Linked DNA regions of Homo sapiens: all the other regions are linked to region 5. The links are contacts of gene promoters, found by promoter capture Hi-C in blood cells and fetal thymus (Javierre and others, 2016). All regions are on one chromosome and are shown on one strand. Each heading gives the region's core, a stretch centred on a gene start or on the middle of the fragment in contact. The rest is flanking DNA. Distances are from core to core; before and after follow the strand shown. Region 1 overlaps VEZT (vezatin, adherens junctions transmembrane protein). Region 2 overlaps CEP83 (centrosomal protein 83). Region 3 overlaps SNRPF (small nuclear ribonucleoprotein polypeptide F). Region 4 has its middle 9.1 kb from the start of CEP83-DT. Region 5 holds the start of RLIG1 (RNA 5'-phosphate and 3'-OH ligase 1). Region 6 overlaps METAP2 (methionyl aminopeptidase 2). Region 7 holds the start of NR2C1 (nuclear receptor subfamily 2 group C member 1).

Region 1 (2,789 bases), core at 232-2,731, 7.2 Mb before region 5:
GAACCTAAATGGAACCCAGAGGACAAGGGAATGCAGTGATGCAGTCCATAATGATCAGGGTGGAATTATGGGTCTGAGGGACACAGGGAGAAAAATAATCACCAATGATAACATCAATCCCTCAACTATATACTTGGGTATTAAATAAGAAATAAAAATGGAACTTATACAACCATGAGACAAACTACATTTCAAAACTTTCGTGATACAACTGAAGCAATACTCAGGGAAATTTATAGCCTTACAAGTTATTTTGGGCATTTAGGTTTTTAACTCAAGAAGCTAAAAAAAACAGAACAAAAATAGCAAAATAAACACAAATAGATGAATGGAAATAGATAAAAGTAGAAATTTTAAAAAAATTTAAAACCACAAACAAATTCAATAGAACTGACCAAACAAAACCAACTAGTTTTTTGAAAAGTCTACCTGAGGCCAGGCACGGTGGCTCACATCTGTAATCCCAGCACTTTGGTAGGCCGAGGTGGGTGGATCACCCGAGGTCAGGAGTTCAAGACCAGCCTGGCCAACATGGTGAAACCCCATCTCTACTAGAAATACAAAAATTAGCTGGGCATGGTGATGGGTGCCTGTAATCCCAGCTACTCGGGAGGCTGAGGCAGGAGAATTGCTTGAACCCAGGAGGCAGAGGTTGCAGCAAGCCAAGATCCTGCCATTGCACTCCAGCCTGGGCGACAAGGCTAACAGAGTGGAACTCTGTCTCAAAAAAAAGAAAAGTCTATCTGGTAAGTTGAAACTCCAGCACATCTATGCAAAACAAAAAGAAAAACATAACAACAATCAGATCTAATTTGTGCTATAAATGAAACTAAAGAGACTACTAAGAATATATCAATAATTTTGAAAACCTAGATAAAAAGCAATTTGTTGGAAAAATTTAATAAAAGGTAACATTTACTGAGTGTTTACAATGTGTCAGGTACTCATCTAAGTAATTCACTTATATTAAATCATTTAGTACTCATAACTACCTTACGAGATAGTTACTGTTATTTTTATTTAATATGGAGAAAACTGAAGCTTAGACAAGTTAAGTAACCTGCTCAAAGTCACATTAACTAATATAACTAATAAATAGCTGACCTAGGATTTCTTAGGTTATCCAGCTCCAGAGCCCATATCTTTAACTATATTACACTGCCTTTCAGAATAAAAAAGTTATCAAAATAGAAAATTGTACCTGAGCAATAACCATAAAAGAAATTGAGCTGATAGACAACATTCAGTCTCTTTTCCCCAGGAAAGGCCAATTTAGCTATACTCTGAAGAAACAGATAATTCTCATTTTGTAAAATCAGTCCTAGAGCACAGAACGAGATGAGAAGTTGCTTGATTCATTTAGAAGGCAAGCAATAAATGTTCACGGATTGGAAGATTCAATATTGATTGTAAAGATGTTAAGTTTCCCCAGATTAATTTATAGCTTCAAAGCAATTTCAATCAAAGTCTCAGTAGGGTTTTTTTATTTTTATTTTTTATTTTTTTACAAAAACTGACAGGCTGATTCTAAAATTTATATGGAAATATAATGGGCCAAGAATAGCCAAAGGCAATCCTGAAGAAAAATACAGCTGAAGGGTCTTATGCTATCAGATATTAAAACCTATTTTTTAAATTATAGTAATTAAAATAATGTGGTATTAACACACGAATAGACAAAATGATCAATGGCAAAGAAGACAGTGTCCAGAAAGAGATCTACACATAAAAGATTCCCTGATTTATGACAAAGGCAACACTACAGTTCAGTGGGGAAAAAATGATCTGTTCAGTAAATGGTGCCAGGTCAACTGGACATCCATACGGGGAAAAAAAAATGTTGATCTTCACTTGTTACCATACAAAAATCAGTACCAGATGGATGACAGATCTAAATGGGAAAATGTCAAATAAAGCTTTTAAAGAAAATATCTTTGTGACCTTAGAGTAGGCAAATATTTTTTTAACAGCACTAATCACAAAAGAATAAGGTTTAATTGGATTATAATAAGGAGCTTCTGTTCATTGAAAGACACGATTAAAAGAGTGCAGAGGCCACATATAGCCCAAGGTAAGATATATGAGGTATATACAGTTGTCTCTTTATTCATGGGGAATTGGTCACAGGACTAGGGCAAATACCCAGTCCATGGATGCTCAAGTCCCTTATATAAAATGGCATAGTATTTGCATATAACATACACACAGTCTCCCACATATTTTAAATCATCTCTAGATTATTTGTAATACCTAATACAATGTGAACACTATGTAAATAGTTGTTATCCTGTATAGTTTTTTTATTTGTATTATTTTTTGAATATTTTTGAGTATTTATTTATTTATTTAGAGATATGGTCTCACTCTGTCACCCAGGCTGGAATTGTAGCTCACTGCAGCCTCAAATTCCTGGGCTCAAGCAATCTTCTGCCTCAGGCTGTGGAGTAGCTGGCATTACAGACATGCATCACCACACCTGGTTAATTTTTTTCTTTTTTTTTTTTAATATGCAGGGTTTTGTTAATGTTGACCAGGCTGGTCTTAAACTCCTGGCTTCAAGCAATATTCCTACCTTAGCCTCCCAAAGTGCTGGGATTACAGGCATGAGCCACCTCACTGGGCCAGAGTATTTCCTTTATTTTTTTTTTTTGAGATGGAATCTTACTCTGTCACCCAGAGCAACCTCCGCCTCCTGGGTTCAAGCGATTCTCATGCCTCAGCCTCTGGAGTAGCTGGGACTACAGGTGCATGCCACCATGCCCAGCTAGTTTTTGTATTTTTTAGTAGAG
Region 2 (2,700 bases), core at 156-2,655, 6.4 Mb before region 5:
TAGAATCTTGTAAGTGTAGTTGTAGGGTGTACAGAGCAGTATTCAACTTGGCCCGGAGGAAGTTAGTCAAAGAAAACTAGGAAAACAATTCTTGAAGTTGGAGAGAGAGAAGAGTCATCAACGTTAGTGGTAGTTGAAATACCAGGTATAGATGAGGTTCCTAGTGAGAGTTGTGTAGAATCAGAAGAGAGCTTGTGAACACCAGCATGTAATAGGAAGGGGGAGAAAGAAGGTAGGAAAACCAGAGTAGGGTAACGTTTTGGAAACCAAAGAAAGAATGCACATCACATTTAGTTTATTGATTAAATGGAAATTGTTGCTCAAGAAACATTGAGTGTGTAGTCCTATAAATGTAAACCTATCTAAATAAAGATGCCCTCTACAAAGATCTGAACTTGCAAATGGGGGTAGTTTAAGTCCTTGTTTAGCAGCGTAACAGAGGAAAGAGTATGTACTTTGGAGCCTGGATCCTGAGAGTGAAGGTTAGATTACTAGCTGCGTAACTTTTTGAACCAGTTACTTAATTTTTTGGTCCTTAATGTATGGATTAAAATAAGGTAAGCTGTAAACTTGACTTTTAGTGGGCATTGTTGATTTTTATCCTTGCCATTATTAATGACTCTTCTGAACTACATACCCTTCTTTTCCTTCCCCATCCCCCGTCATATTCTTTCATCCTTCAAGATCCACCAAAATTCCTGCCTTTTCTTTGATATCTTCCTCTATGGATGATATTACAAATTTTCTGTAATGGAATGAACATGTCCTGTGTCCCTTAGAATTAGCAACGTTATTCTTTTTTCTTTTTCTTTTTTAAAGCCTTAAGAAGGAAATTGTATTATCTCACATGTAAGAAGTCTGGAGATAGGTGGTTCTAAGATTGTCAATTAAGTGGCTTAGTGATAATCTTTAAGAACCTGGATTCTTTTTGCTTGGTCATCCTTTGAACTCAGCCTTGATTACTACAACTATCAACAAATTTTCCAAAGTTTGGAAGAGATAACTTCTTTCTTCTACCTAGCCCTTTTTAAACAGCTTTATTGAGATATATTTTACCTACCATAAAAACCACTCATTGTAAGTGTACAATTTAATGGTTTTTAGCAACTTTATAGAGTTGTGCGACTGTCATCACAAGGCAATTTCTGACATTTTATCAGTCTCCTAGATTCTCTCAAGCTTATTTGCATTTAAGGTAACTCCTTCCCACAGCCCCAGAGAACCACTGATCTACTTTCTATCACTATAAATTTGTCTTTTCTACATATTTCATATAAATGGAATCAATACAGTAGTCTTTTGCATCTGGCTTCTTTAACTTCATGCTTTTGAGGTTTATTTAATGTATGTATATCAATGTTTTGTTCTTTTTAATTGTTGCATAGTATTCGTGTGTATTTTCCATTCACCAGTTGAATAGTATTGGTGAATAGTATTTCCCATTTACTGGTAACCAGTGAATAGTATTTCCCATTCACTAGGTGATAGACATTGGATGGTTTCCAGTTTTTGGCTGTTATGAATAATGCTGCTATGAAGATTTGTCTGTAATTCCTTGTGTGAGCATATGTATTCATTTGTTTTGGGTAAATTCCTAGGAGTGGAATTGTTGAATTATATGGTAAGCTTATTTTTAACTTTTAAAGAAACTGTCAAAATGTTTTCCAAAGTAGCTGTACCAATTACATCCTACCAGCAATGTATGATGATTCCAGTTTCTCCACATCCTCACCAACAGTTGGTATTATCTTTTTAATTATAGCCATTCTAGTTAGTATCTAGTAGTATCCCATTGTAATTTTAATTTGCATTTCCCTGCACAGTAATGTTGGACACCTTTTTCTGTGGTTATTGGCCATTTGGTGGAATATCTGTTTAAGGCATTTGCCCATTTTTTAGCTGGGTTTTTTTTTTTTTTTTTTTGGTCTTACTGAGTTGTAAGAGTTCTTTATATATGCTGGATGAAAGTTTGTATTGTTTTTAATATCAGAGATAAGATTTGCAAATATTTCTCCCAGTTGGTGTCTTGGCTTTTCATATTTTTACTGTTGTCTTTTGAAGTGCAAAAGTTTTTAATGAAGTCATTTCTTTTGTGTGTGTGGCACGTACTTTCATGTTATGTATACGAACTTTTTGCCTAATCCAAGGTCCCAAAGATTTTTCTTTGAGCTCCCAAAGGTCTTCTTTGAGCTCTTTCCTTTAAATATAAGATTCATATTGAATTAACCGTGCATTTGATGTAAGAAGAGGATCTAAGTTCATTTTTTAAAAATGTGAATGCCAAATTATCCAGTACCATTTGTTAAAAAGACTGTTCTTTTCCCTTCAATTGTATTGGCATCTTTGTAAAATATCAGTTGACTATAATGTAAGAATTTATTCCAAGACTCATGTCTATAAACCTATCCTTACTCCAACACTATTCTGTCTTGATTACTGCAGTTTTATAGTAAGTTTCAAAATAAGTAGTGTAACATTTTCTTCTTTTTCAAAATTGGTTCTATGCTCTTTCCATTTCCATATACAATTTAGGATCAGCTTGTTAATTTCTACAAAAACACATCTGATGTTTGTAGGATTTGCATTGAATCTATCCATCAATATGGGAAGAATCACTAACTTAACCATCTTGAGTCTTCCAATCCATGAACATGTAATATCTCTCCATTTACTTAGATCTTTCATTTCTCTTAATAATGT
Region 3 (2,822 bases), core at 52-2,551, 7.8 Mb before region 5:
TGTCTTCCCCCTTTTCTTCATGGATGGCATCTATCATGCCTATTATCACATTATATTACCACCTCCCACCACTAAACCATAAACTGTTGAGGGCAGGGACTTTGTTTTGTTCAATGCTATATTCACAGTGCCAGGCACATAATGGAATTCAATAAATATTTGCTGAGTGAACAAATTCAAACACTGGTATCAATATGGTTGACTACTCAAAGTGGTTGGTTACTCAGACATTTTGCAACTCTAGCAGGGTCACTAGCAAGCTATATTAATTCTAAAACAAATATTAAGTGGTAATTCTTTTATTATTGAGATGTTAATTTCCATAGCATAAAATTCACCCTTTTAAAGTGTACAATTCAGTGGTTTTCAGTATATTCAAAAACCTGTGCAACTATCACCACTACTTCCAGAATATTTTCATCACAATTCATATACTTCCCAGATTTTTCTATGGTCTTGGTAAATGACTCCTGTTTAAGGAATTTTCCACACTCAAACTATGCTTTGGGGGCCTTAATGTCATGTGCTCAGGTGGTAATTGCCTAAGTTAAGGAAAATCATAGCTCTCTGCCTACTTAAGTACTCCTTTTAGTACTCTGCTTACAAGTATGGAATCCTTGGATTCATGATTGGATTGACCACCTGTCTTGATAGCCTTTAAAAACCTGCCTGGAAACTACTACCATTAAAAAAACAACAAAAAATCCCAAACTAATTTTTTAAATGTGCAAAAGACATGAACAGGCATTTCTCCAAAGATAAACAAATGGCCAATAAACACATGAAAAGGTGCTCAACATCATTAGCCAAATGCAAATCAAAACCACAATAAGATACCACTTCACACCCATTAGAATAACTATTTTATAAACACCCATAGAAAATAACAAGTGTTGGTGAGGATGTGGAGAAACTGGAACCGTTGTGCATTGCTGGTGGGTATGTAAAACCACGTAGCTGCTGTGGAAAATAGTGTGACAGTTACTCAAAAGAAAAAAAAAAATTTCTCTGTCATCCAGGCTAGAGTGCAGTGATCACAGCTCACTGCAGCTTCAACCTCCCCAGGCTCAGGTAATCCTCCCAACTCAGCTTCCTGAGTAGCTGGGAATATAGCTGCCCACACCATCATGCCTAGCTAGTTTTTGTATTTTTTTTGTAGAGATGCAGTTTCACTATGTTGCCCAGGCTGGTCTCAAACTCCTGGGCTCAAGCAATCTGCTGCCTCAGCCTCCCAAAGTGCTGGGATTACAGGCATGAGCCACCACGCTTGGCCTCCTTAAAAAATTAAACATAGAATTACCAGTAATCCAGTAATTCCACTTCTGGGTATATACCCCAAAGAGCTGAAAGCAGTGACTGGAACAGACATTCGTATACCCATGTTCACAGCAGCATTATTTACTACAGTCCAAAGAGGGAAGCAACCCAGTGTCCACCAAGAGGCAAATGGATTAGAATGTGGTATATCCATATAATGGAATATTATTCAGTCATAAAAAGGAAATTCTGACACATGCTACAACATGGATGAACCTTGAATAATACACTACGTTAAGTCAAACAAGCCAGACACAAAAGGATAATACACAATTCCACTTACATGAGGTATTATGCACGGTCAAATTCATAGACATGTAGACTAGTGGTTACCAGGGGTTAGTTAGGTGGAGGAAGGAATGGAAAATTATTGTTTAATGTTTAATTGTAAAATTATTGTTTAATGGAAAATTATTGTTTAATGGGCAAAAAATTTCACTTTTGGATGGTAAACAAGTTCCAGAAATGGACAACGGTGATGGCTGCAGAACAATGTGAAGGTACTTAATGCCACTGAATTATACACTTAAAAATGGTTAGAGTGGCAAAATTGTAATGTATATTTTACCACAATAAAAAGATAATTAATTACAAAAAAACCCACCAAAACACATGGCTGAATCATTTACAGAAACTCGTTTGACAGACATACAGTCAGTTCAATTCCTTTGGCAGATCTGTCTTTCCCCTGAAGGAATGAATTTCCTCAATAGCTTTGGTGTTGTGCCTTTAGCATTCATTAAAAGACTCAATAATTTCACTTGAAAACTTTCTTTCAGGGCTAAATGATGAGAAATGTTTTGTTTTCTCCAGCAAAGTAGTGTGTTTCCCTTATGGTATTATTATGAATCAAGTGTCTGAGCTCTTCCTACTTTAACTACTAGGAATAAAATCTGTAGCTGAATTCTGGTTTAAGTCCATGTCTTGTACCTAGTATATCACAGTATCCCTCCTGGCTTTGACTTTATTTTTGAATTTTGCCGTATATTTGTCAATTTAATTGTATGTATTCTTATTAGTCAGACTAAACCTTTGAGAAATAAGGTGAAGCAAAATAAATGCAATGTTATGACCTTTACAGCTCTTTAGCTTACCTGCATGTTCATGTAGCCATCTACAGATACCAGATAGCCCTTGTACTCCATTCCCCACTTAAGTTTCACCATCACTGGCTTTCCTGTTAGTCCATTGAGGAAAGGTTTGGGATTGAGGGGTAAACTCTGCACAAAGAACAAAAAAGGATCTAATTAATTATTTTTCCTCCCACCACCAACTCTCTTCTACCGAATCACCAATATTTTGTGGTATGCAAATGAAGAAAACTTTTGACTCCTTATTATTTTAGTACATAATTTTCACTTTTATTTGTTGAGAGTACCAGGGAAATTTAAATATCCAGTTAGCCAATTTCACCTTTAACCCATCAAAACAAAACACTGACTATTCACTTAAGATACACTGACTACCTACATCACTCACTGTTCTGAGCTCTAAAGAAACAAAGA
Region 4 (2,700 bases), core at 123-2,622, 6.4 Mb before region 5:
TATTATGAATAAGGTTGCTCTAAACATTCTTTGTGTAAGTTTTCTTGTGAAGTTGCATTTTCGTGTCTCTTGGGTAACTAAGTGAAATTGATGAGCCATGAATAAGGTAGATGAAAGTACAATGAAAAGAAATTGCCAAGTACTTTTCCAAAGTATTTTACACTCACATCAGCAATGTGTAAGTTCCAGCTGTTTCACATCTTTGTTAATGTTTGGGCTACTACACTTTATTTCAGCACCTTGGAATGTCTGTGAAATGAAGTCCTCTGTAGATTTAATTTTCATTCCCTTGATGATCAAAGATATTAAGTACTTCCTCCATTTTTTTGTTGTGTTAAAATACACATAACATAAAAACCATTTTGTAGTGTACAGTTCCATCGTATTAAACACTGTACATTCATAAATGTGCAACCATCACCAGCATCTATCTCCAGAATTCTCTTTATCTTGTAAAACTGAAACTATACCCATTAAGCAGTAACTCCCCAGATCCCCCACCCCACCAGCCCCTGGCAAACACCATTCTACTGTCTCTGTACTTTTGACTCCTTTAAGTATCTCAGATAAGTGGAATAATATGGACCAGTACCATTCCATGGCCTGTTAGGAACTGGGCTGCAAAGCAGGGAGCAACAGGTGAGCAAGCAAAGCTTCATTTGTATTTACAGCCATTCCCCATCGCTCACATTACCGCCTGAGCGCTGCGTCCTGTCAGATCAGCGGCGGCATTAGATTCTCATAGGAGTGCGAACCCTGTTGTGAACTGTGCATGTGAGGGATCGAGGTTGTATGCTCCTTATGAGAATCATGATCTGTCACTGTCTTCCATCACCCCCAGATGGGACCATCTAGTTACAGGAAAACAAGCTCAGGGCTCCCACTGATTCTACATTATGGTGAGTTGTATAATTATTTCATATTACAGTGTCATAATAGAAATAAAATACACAAATGTAATGTGCCCGAATCATCCTGAAACCACCCCCCCACCCATCAATCTGTGGAAAAATTGTCTTCCACGAAACTGGTGCCAAAAAGGTTGGGGACCACTGTTCTATTGTATGTATATACTATATTGCTCATTCATTTATCTGTGGATGGAGACTTGTGATGTTTCCACATTTTAGCTATTGTGAATAATGCTGGTTGTGAACATGGGTGTGCAAATCTCTTTTTTTTCTAGCTCCATTTCTGAGTATGGAGAGACGTATTTTCAATTATTTTAGGTATATACCCATAAATGGAATTGCTAGATTATATAACTCTATTTTTAATTTTTTGAGGAGCCTCCATACTGTTTTCTGTAATGGCTCTACTATTTTAATTCCCATCAACAGTGCACAAGGATTCCAATTTTTCCACATCCTTGCTAATATTTTTTTTAAATAGTAGCCACCCTAATGAGTGTGAGGTGGTGTCTCATTATACTTTTGATTTGCATCCTAATGATTAGTTAAATTGGGCATTTTTTCATATGCTTATTGGCCATTTGTATATTTTCTTTGGAGAAATGTCTATTCGTGTCCCTTGCCATCTATTTACTTATTTAGAGATGGAGTCTTGCTCTGTCACCTAGGGTGGAGTGCAGTGGTGTGATCTTGGCTCACTGCAGCCTCTGCCTCCCAGGCTCAAGTGATCCTCCCATCTCAGCCTCCTGAGTAGCTGGGATTATAGGCAAGCACCACCATGCCTGGCTAATTTTTTGTATTTTTGGTAGAGATGGGGTTTTACCATATTGTCCAGGCTGGTCTTGAACTCTTGAGTTCAACTGATCTGCCCCCCTTGGTCTCCTAAAGTGCTGGGATTACAGGCATCAGCCACCATGCCCGGCCTCCTTTGCCCATTTTAAAATTGTATTCTTTGTTAGGAGTTCTCTATATATTCTGAATATCAATCACTTATCAGATATGACTTGAAAATATTTTCTCCTGTTCTGTGGCTTGCCTTTTTACTCTGTTGATAGTGTCATCTGATATACAAAATTTTAAAATTTTCATAAAGTGAAATTTGTCTATTTTTTCTTTTGTTGCCTAGGCCTTTGGTTTAATATCCAAGAAATCAATGTCAAATCCAATGCTATGAAGCTTTTGTTCTGTGTTTTCTTCTAAGAGTTTTATAGTTTTAAGTCTTATGTTTATGTCTTTTATCCATTTTGAGTTAATTTTTGTATATGGTGTTGGGTAAGGGTTCAACTTCATTCTGGGTCTGGTTTTCCCAGCACTATTTGTTGAAAAGACTGTCCTTTCCCCATTGAATGGTCTTGGCACCCTTATCAAAAACTATTTGATCATAAATGAGGGAGTTTATTTTTAGGCTCTCCATTCTATTTCATTGGTCTATGTCTGTCTTTACACCAATACTACACTGTTTTAATTACTATAGCTTTGTAGTAAGTTTTGAAATCAGTAAGTGTGAGTACTTGAGCCTTGTTCTTTTTTCAAGATTGTTTTGACTATTTCAGTTCCCTTGAGATTCCATATGAATTTTAGGATGATTTTTCCATTTCTGCAAAAATTGTCATTGGGATTTTAATAAGGATTGCATAATGTGTTGATTGTTTCATACAGTATTGACATTTTAATACTGCTCCAATCCATGAACATAGATGTGTTTCCATTTATTTATATCTTCTTTAATTTATTTTGCAATGTTTTGTAGCTTGCATGTGTAAGTCTTTCACCTCCTTGGTTAATTCCT
Region 5 (2,700 bases), core at 37-2,536:
AACATTGAGTAATAACTGTGGTATTCTGACGAGGAAAGAACATGGTGATGATCAGTCTGAGTGGCAAGTAAGACCAGTTAGGTGGTGCAATGAGCAGGACATGAAATATTAACTGTAACAGCTGTGACAGCACTAGAAAGCAGGAAAAGATCAGATGCTATAAGGTAAAAAGCATCAAGGTGAATGGAAAACTGGCATGAAATGATTCCAGGGTTCATTCTTTAATTCAACAAATATTTATCCAGTGCCTACCACGTGCCAGGTCCTAGAAGCTGGGACTAAAGATAACAGGGCAATCTTTGCCTTAAACAAGTTTTAGTCCAGAAGACGAGAAAGCCAGTGCCAATGATGAAACTCAAGTGAGGTGGATTTCCAATGGACATGTTGGTTTTGTTTGAAATCAGCAAAGTTGGGAAGCACCCAACTAATCACTGGGGATTCTACTGATCAAAGACTACAACGTTTTATAGTACAATATGAAAAAATTACCCAAATATAGGTTACTCACTAGCATTTACCGAGGGCACACTATGGAAAACACGTTGCTGCAACAGAAAACCTTGAGAACACCAAAGTTAGAATAAATTAAGTAATTACTGGTAATATGAGGTGTGAACTTCAGTGACCTAATTAGGCTACTGTCAACACCGCCACTGGTTCGGACAGAACAGGTAAAGCAAGTCTTCTAATATCCACCCTTTCTTACTGCACTCTTGAAAAGTAGTAAAGCTTGGACTGTGGCAATTACCTGATTAGGGGGTTTCCCCAAAAGGTGCTGACCTGAAAAGGAAGGGACATGCTGTGGATGTGAGTTATCCATTTCCTTGCGAGGACAAGTTTGAATCTCCTGATAAGGAAAATTCTTTCGCAAATTCCCTCCCTCACAACTAAGAAAAGTACAAGAACCTGGAGCTCAGGGCGTACGGAACTCCCACCCCAGACCTCCCCAGGGAAACCTACAGAGGTTCCTGGCCTGCAGGGCAGTTCTAAAGCGCCCAGCCGCCCTCGCCGGGTTCGCACTGAGCCAGCGCCGCGGGGAGGAGCCCACGCGGGCCGCCAAGCCTGCCCGGCGCTCCTCCGTACCTGATGCTCCCTTTTGGAGGAAGGCTCCTCTTTCACCTCCGTCACAAACACACACGGCATTTTCCGCTGCACGGAGCCCAAGCGCTTCATGATGAGCCCAACAAGCAGTGCGAATGGAGGGCGTGCTTTCGAGCGGCGCCCGGTCCAGTCGCGGAGAAGCCCTGAAGCAGTCACCCGCACGGCTCAGGCCACGCACACTCCGCGCCCAGCCACCGCGGCTGCGCCCCAACTACCAAGCCCAGCGAGGGGCGGGAACGCCCGTCCAGAAGCGGCTTCCTGGCCGCGGCGCCTTCTGGGAGTTGTAGTGCAGAAGCTGAGGCGCCTGGTGGGTTCCCACGTGCGTCCTCCGCCCCCCACCCTCGGTTTTAATAACCGTGAAAAAAAAAAAAAAAAGATGCGTTTCCCGAACGTGGGTACTTAGCAATACCTAGTAACTAATGATTTTTTGGGAAATTAAATAAGATCAAATTATAAGCAATGAACATTTCAGATGTCGATTTAACACAGTTCCAATGGAAACTGCTTGCCTGTTATCTTTAGTTCGTGGGGGAAGCACTGTAGAAGTTTAGAAATGGCTAGAGACATCCCCAGATTCCCAAGCAGAATGAAAACTTCCTTTCCGGTAAGACTATCAGAAAACCCTATAATAAAACACCTGGGATCAAAAAAAGTTGTCGTTTGAACTACTCCTTATTGTGCAGCATAGCATGGTCGAAATGATTCTGATGTTCTTTTCGGAGTGAGTGCGAAATTTCAGCCTTAGACTAATCCAAAAGTACAGGAATACCTACAACCAGATTTCATTCTCAAGTTTTTCATAAGAATCTTGTTTAATTAAAGGTGAGCTCCAACAGCCCAAATGGCTTGAGTAATGGTAGTCAATCAACTGCGAGCTAAAAACAGCCTTAACTTACTGCTCAAAAGAATATTTTGAGGGTAAGTGATAAGATGGACAATGACTAAATAAAATAAATACTAAATATTTAGGAATAGTAGCCTTTCCATCTCATTGAATGTAGTAGTTCCTAGCCTGAAGTTGTAGGGGAATTTTGACTTTACTGCCATCCTTTATGGGCTTGGACTAGGCCCAGGTCTCATTTCTTTGTCTTATCTGCATGTACTCAACTGTCCAGCATGTTACTGACTTAGCCCTTGGAAAAATTAAACAACTATATCTCACTTAGAGGTATCTAACTAGTAAGGGGGTTCTCAAAGAATAAAACATCTTCCTTTAAAAAGTTCACAGTTATATTGAATACTGACAGTGAAAAAAAATAAAATTTAAAAAAAGTTCACAGTTTTTTGATTACTGGATTCAGAGGGGAGGGAGGAAGAAAGAGATTTGCCATTTCAAAGTGTTTACTTTCTTTTCTACTATCTTTTTCTCACAGGAAAACACAAAATGTTCTCCCACATCACACCCCGCCTGCATTTATCAAAAAAGAAAACACCTGATGCTGGCTGTGTGCTGTTGGAACCAGAAACTTTTTAGCATATTATAGTCGAGTGCCAGTGACTTCTTTGTTCTTTCAGAGGCATTCTAAAAAGCGGCGTGTTTCACGAATCTCAGAGACAACAACTTTCACAACTATCAACTGTCACCTCCCAAACTGCCAC
Region 6 (2,723 bases), core at 115-2,614, 7.5 Mb before region 5:
CCTAGAGTAGTTTCAAAGGTGAGTTGTGATAATTCATTCAATTTCTAATAAAAGTTTATTAATAAAACAATGAAGGAAAGATACAAACTATACCAAATCTGTAAGAATACTGAATCTGATCTATTTGCAAATAGTCAAAACTGGTTATATGAATGTAAAAAGTATTGAGATTTATTAAAAAGCAAACACACCACACTATCTTATACTTATTCTGTATTTCTCCAGGATAACATACAATAATGCAATATTTAAGAAAATTACTTTGAGAAGTATTATAACATGTAATTAATATCTTCCTCTATTATTTCAAAAACAGAAGTTATTCTACTTATTTAATTTCAATAGAAGCTTAGAGTAAGGAAAAGGAAGTTTTTGAAGTTTACAAAATCTCATTTTTTTCATGTATTAAATACCACTTCAAGTGTTCCATAACATTCACATTGTTAAAAGTATTAACAATCTGTTAACAAGTATAAGAAATCAATGGCTTTCCTCCACTCTAGCAGCAAGTATAAAGAAACAGAAACGGGATTGAAATATTTAATTCACATCACTAACAAAAACCATAAAACACTAACAAATTTAATTAAAAAGGGCTAGAACCTACCTGGAAAAAATAAAATTGAATAAGTGAAAAAATATCAAAAACATCCCATGACATTGGATAAGACAAGGTGATAAACTGTCAATTTTCAGAAACTAATACATAAATATAAATGCAATTCTGATGAGAATTCTAACAAGGACATTTGTGTGTGTGTGTGTGTGTAAGGCTATATGACTGAGAGTAGCTAAGAAAAGTATTAAAAAGAACTGTTTGGGATATCAAATCAAAATAGTATTAGCCTAAGAAGAAACAGATCAGTGGAGCAGAGTAAATAATCCAGAAACTGATTCCATTATATACATGGGAATACAGCATGTGACAAAGGTGGTCATTCAATTCAGTAGGAGGGATTATTTAATAGACAATAAACTGACTCTGCACTGGAAAGAAAAATAAAATAATTAGTGCTCCCAACCTTACACAAAAAATTCCAGATTAAAGATGTAATAACACACAAAATACGTGTTCAAGAAAATCTGAGAGACTACTGGGAACTCAGAAGTATTTTTTTTTTTTTTTTTTTTTTTTTTTTGGTGAGACAAAGTCTCGCTCTGTCACCCAGGGTGTAGTGCAGTGGTGCAATCTCAGCTCACTGCAACCTCCATCTCCTGTGTTCAAGCGATTCTCCTGCCTCAGCCCCCCGAGTAGCTGGGATTACAGGCACGCACCACTGCACCCGGCTAATTTTTTTTATTTTTTTATTTTTAGTAGAGACGGGGTTTTACCATGTTGGCCAGGCTGGTCTTGAACTCCTGACCTTAGGTAATCCACCTGCCTCAGCCTCCCAAAGTGCTAGGATTACAGGCATGAGCCACCATGCCTGGCCGGAACTCAGAAGTATTAAACATGGACACATAATGCATTTAAAAATTTAAAACTTCTGGGAAGAGCAAAAGATATCATAAAGCCTACGATCAAAAGATGCTCGAAATCACTAATAGTATAAGAACTGGAAATTATTAATATATTCTTTGGTTAATCAATCTCACTCCTAAAAACGTATTTCAGAATATAACTACCAGTACATGAGAAAGAGAGAAAAATACCTACATATCCAGCTACCTATTTACCTAAGGAGGTTTATTGCAGAATGGTTTATAGTGGCAAAAATTATTGCAGACAAAGCAAATGGCCATCAGCTAAAGAATGGTGGAATAAAGTGTGGTACACTCACACCACGGAATATTATGAAGCCATTCAAGATAATAATAGAACTATTCTAATTGACTTGGAGGAACTTCCAAGAGTTAGCACTGAATGAGAAAAGGTGGAGGAAAGTGTGCCTATGATTCCATTTTTGTAAAACAAACAATGATCAAACATTCCCTTACATAAACAGACAGATGTATACATATATGAGCATAGAAAAAATATGGAAGGCTACCTGCTAGGTGGTTAACATGGGTCTGGAAGGAAGGAAAAGAAGAGGGAACAAGCAAAAAAAAAAAAAAATTAAGAGATTATATTTAAAAATAAATGTGATCACATCATATGTACTATAAGAATTTATTAATGTAAAATTATCTGTATCTGTGGCATTTTAAAAATAAGTGCTTTTAAGATAGGGACAATTGACGATTTCAAATTCAAAGAAAAGAAGCCCATGTCATACAATTCCAGAACTTTACACTTATTCCCTAAGAACATTCGTAACTGGAAATGAGGGAGCAGGTGGTAATGTAACAACAGTATGTTCTTTCTTTTTTTCTATGTTTTAAAAAAAAAAATGGTGTCTTTACAGGCCAAGAAAACAAGAGCTACAGTAGAAGCTTTCTTAACCAACGACTGCAACCACTGGATTAAGCAATACTCTTAAGTCCCTTTGTAAAACACACTGATCAATGTCCATGGTATTATAAATATTGTGGGTGACAGGTTATTACTTTGAATAACAGGAACTAGCTTGCTTTATGTTCACTATGCATCTACTCTTCTAAGTGCTATGCATATATCATTCCTCACAATGACCCTGCAGAGTGCCCATTTTATGGATGAGGAAATAAAAGCACAGATGTGATAATTACTTGCCCAAGTCACAAAGCTAATAAATGTCAGAACTGGGATTCAAATGCAGATAGTTTGGCCCCAGCTTCCATGCTCTCAATATGTCTTCATA
Region 7 (2,700 bases), core at 64-2,563, 7.0 Mb before region 5:
CGTGAGCTACCGTGCCCAGTCTCTAGTGATTATATTCTTGCCCTGTTTAGCCATTATGTCTCTTTACTCACAACAGTTTATAAGTGAAACTTTGCCTTACCATTTGCATGAGTCGGCCTCAGCTTGTCATTATATATAAAGCTTACTAATGTAAATGACGAGTTAATGGGTGCAGCACACCAACATGGCACATGTATACATATGTAACGAACCTGCACGTTGTGTACATGTACTCTAGAACTTAAAGTGTAATACAAAAAAAAAAAAGTTTAAATATGATTGGACTCTACCCCAGAGCCCAGTTTTCCAGAAATTAGAAACAGATATGCCTAAGACCCAGAGGGTTATTTATTACTCAAATCTAAAACGTTGACTCAAAACCTCCCCTAATGCCCACCTTTGGCAAACGATGCTTAAACCTTTGCACGTGGCTTCAAAAATTACCTGGCTGGGAACGCGTAGCTCTGGCGGGGCACTCTGCCTCCAAGCCAAAAGGGGGCAGTGGACTCACAGAGCCGCTGCTCGGCCCTCCGATCCCTCCACCCCACCCTGGGAACGTCACGACCTCCTCTCGCCGCTTCTCCCCGTTGCTAATGCGCAGGCGCTGGCGGGATAGCGCGCCGCCGAGCCGAGAAAGAGGTCACGAACTCTGACCCCCCAGAAATACCCAAACACAGAAAGCTCTCTCCGCCGTGAATCTCGATCCCACATCCCGTCGGCTTTCTTCAACCTCTCTTCCCGGAGCGCCCCCCAATCCACGAGTGGCAGCCGCGGGACTGTCGCGTCGGCGCCCGACGCCGGAGTCAGCAGGGCGCAAAAGCGCCGGTAAGAAACGCTGGGTGGGGACACCAGCGACCGCGTCGGGGGCGGGGGCCAGGGGGTGCCCTTCACCCCAACCGCCAACGGACGCGGTCCCAGCGCATCCCCCGGCCGGCGTCCTGCGGCCAGCGGAGCCGTTCAGTTTGGGAGCGCCGCTTGGGGCTGCTCGACTTCGGCTGGGAGCGCGGAGCTGCGGCGCCAAATGCGCGGGGCCCCGGGAGAGGCGGGGGCGACAGGGGCGGCGGGACGCGGGGCCGGACGGCGAGCGGCTTGGAGCACACAACCCCCTTTCCAGCTGCGCTTACCGCAGCGCCTCTGACCTTTAACCTGCAGGGAAAGCTTCCGCGGCGCTGCAGCTTTCCCCGCCCGGGAGAGCCGCGCGCAGCGCCGGGGCTTCCAGGGCGCACGGCTAACGCCGGCACGAGTGAGACGTGGGAGAGGCCGACCCTCGGCTAGTGGCCGCAAGTCCCGGCCTGCATCCCGTCACTAACTCCCGTGCTTTCACGGGACGGACAGAATGACTCCCCCCACTTTCACTTTTCTCTCACGGCAAATCTGGCCAGGGTCGTCGCTGCCTGTGGGCCTGGATCTTTTCAGAAGAAATGGAACGGCCCCAGGGTTCTCACTGCAGGGGGCATGTCCAAGCTTCCGATAGATAGCTCTTTTGTTAAGAAATAATTCTTCCAACTCGGGCAGATACCATTTTTGTGCAGTACGAATGTTGCCAGGTTGTCCCATAATCTTCAGTAAGTAGGTCAGCCTTTAAAAAAGTAACCGGAAAGCAAAAGCAGAAAGACCTAAAATTACGGCCTTTAGGGTTTAGTACCGCTAGAATTTGTAAATGGACCTTCGATTTTGAGCTTTTTTGAACCATTTCTGCTGTGTGGTTGGTGATACTCGATTTTTTTTTCTTTTTTTTTTTTTTTTTTTGAGAGGGAGAGGGAGTCTCACTGTCGCCAAGCTGGAGTGCGGTGGCGCGATCTCGGCTCACTGCAACCTCCGCCTCCAGGTTCAAGCGATTCTCCTGTCTCAGCCTCCCGAGTAGCTGGGATTACAGACACGAGCCACCACACCCAGCTAGTTTTTTTGTTTTTGTTTTTGTTTTTGTTTTTTGTATTTTTAGTAGAGGTGGGGTTTCACTATGTTGGCCAGGATGGTCTTGATACTCTGACCTCGTGATGTACCCGCCTCTGATCCACCCGCCTCGGCCTCCCAAAGTACTGGGATTACAGGCGTGAGCCACCGCGCCCGGCCGATGATTGTTTTTAAACTTTGCTTTAAGTCCAGTTAGTATATCTGAAAAAGCGATGTGTATTTCTATCATTAAAAGTGGGTCGCGGCTGGGCGCGGTGGCTCACACCTGTAATCCCAGCACTTTGGGAGGCTGAGGTGGGCGGATCATCTGAAGTCGGGAGTTCGAGACCAGCCTGACCAACATGGAGAAACCCCGTTTCTACTAAAAATACAAAATTAGTCGGGCGTGGTGGCGCACACCTGTAATCCCAGCAACTCCGGAGGCCGAGGCAGGAGAATTGCTTGAACCCGGGAGGCGGAGGTTGCAGTGAGCTGAGATCGCGCCATTGCACTCCAGCCTGGGCAAGAAGAGCGAAACTCCGTCTCAAAAAAAAAAAAAAAAGTGGGTTTTATGAAATGTTGCTAATCTTAGTTTTTCAAGGGGCATGTTAGTTTCTTCTAGGAAAGGTTTTTTTGTTTTGTTTTATAGAAATGGTGGGGGGCCTCATTTTGTTATCCAGACAGATCTCTGGCCTCAAGCTATCCTCCTGCCTCAGCCTGTTGAGTAGCTGGAATTACAGGCACCGCATCTTAAGGAAGGATTTTGAGGGAGCAAACATCCCCAAACACACACCGTCTGTGTGTCTG

Evidence for each region. Contacts are between HindIII fragments. The CHiCAGO score rates a contact against its expected background, and 5 or more counts as called.
Region 1: a contact is called between a fragment that was not itself captured here and the fragment with the promoter of RLIG1 in region 5, in 4 of 17 cell types (non-activated CD4 T cells, activated CD4 T cells, naive CD8 T cells and 1 more). The highest score is 12.3, in non-activated CD4 T cells.
Region 2: a contact is called between a fragment that was not itself captured here and the fragment with the promoter of RLIG1 in region 5, in 2 of 17 cell types (activated CD4 T cells and non-activated CD4 T cells). The highest score is 5.4, in activated CD4 T cells.
Region 3: a contact is called between a fragment that was not itself captured here and the fragment with the promoter of RLIG1 in region 5, in 6 of 17 cell types (fetal thymus, non-activated CD4 T cells, activated CD4 T cells and 3 more). The highest score is 15.1, in fetal thymus.
Region 4: a fragment that was not itself captured here is called in contact with the fragment with the promoter of RLIG1 in region 5 in 1 of 17 cell types (non-activated CD4 T cells); the score reaches 5.5 in non-activated CD4 T cells.
Region 6: a contact is called between a fragment that was not itself captured here and the fragment with the promoter of RLIG1 in region 5, in 1 of 17 cell types (non-activated CD4 T cells). The highest score is 5.8, in non-activated CD4 T cells.
Region 7: a fragment that was not itself captured here is called in contact with the fragment with the promoter of RLIG1 in region 5 in 3 of 17 cell types (activated CD4 T cells, non-activated CD4 T cells and fetal thymus); the score reaches 10.2 in activated CD4 T cells.

Annotation. Positions count from the first base shown.
Region 1 is chr12:95,221,395-95,224,183 of GRCh38, reverse strand. All of the region lies in intron 1 of VEZT (vezatin, adherens junctions transmembrane protein), which reads right to left. Among named protein-coding and RNA genes, the nearest start is that of VEZT, 5.0 kb to the right of the region's middle. The HindIII fragment of the contact is 875 bases long and covers 1,044-1,918 here.
Region 2 is chr12:94,450,691-94,453,390 of GRCh38, reverse strand. The region is part of intron 1 of CEP83 (centrosomal protein 83); the gene reads left to right. Among named protein-coding and RNA genes, the nearest start is that of CEP83, 7.8 kb to the left of the region's middle. The HindIII fragment of the contact is 447 bases long and covers 1,182-1,628 here.
Region 3 is chr12:95,860,883-95,863,704 of GRCh38, reverse strand. SNRPF (small nuclear ribonucleoprotein polypeptide F) reads right to left here. Exons shown (of 4, transcript NM_003095.5): 2 at 2,412-2,537. Among named protein-coding and RNA genes, the nearest start is that of SNRPF, 3.3 kb to the right of the region's middle. The HindIII fragment of the contact is 5,419 bases long and covers 1-2,822 here.
Region 4 is chr12:94,467,707-94,470,406 of GRCh38, reverse strand. No RefSeq gene overlaps it. Among named protein-coding and RNA genes, the nearest start is that of CEP83-DT, 9.1 kb to the right of the region's middle. The HindIII fragment of the contact is 1,434 bases long and covers 656-2,089 here.
Region 5 is chr12:88,034,122-88,036,821 of GRCh38, reverse strand. It overlaps RLIG1 (RNA 5'-phosphate and 3'-OH ligase 1), which reads right to left and starts at 1,286. Exons shown (of 7, transcript NM_001009894.3): 1 at 1,084-1,286. The coding sequence starts at 1,173. It overlaps LOC107984542 (a long non-coding RNA gene), which reads left to right and starts at 1,326. Exons shown (of 3, transcript XR_007063395.1): 1 at 1,326-1,408; 2 at 2,475-2,700. The HindIII fragment of the contact is 2,128 bases long and covers 732-2,700 here.
Region 6 is chr12:95,486,928-95,489,650 of GRCh38, reverse strand. The region is part of intron 4 of METAP2 (methionyl aminopeptidase 2); the gene reads right to left. Among named protein-coding and RNA genes, the nearest start is that of METAP2, 14 kb to the right of the region's middle. The HindIII fragment of the contact is 2,028 bases long and covers 351-2,378 here.
Region 7 is chr12:95,071,505-95,074,204 of GRCh38, reverse strand. NR2C1 (nuclear receptor subfamily 2 group C member 1) reads left to right here and starts at 587. Exons shown (of 14, transcript NM_003297.4): 1 at 587-825. RefSeq lists enhancers at 490-809, 500-1,000 and a silencer at 890-1,169. The HindIII fragment of the contact is 306 bases long and covers 1,161-1,466 here.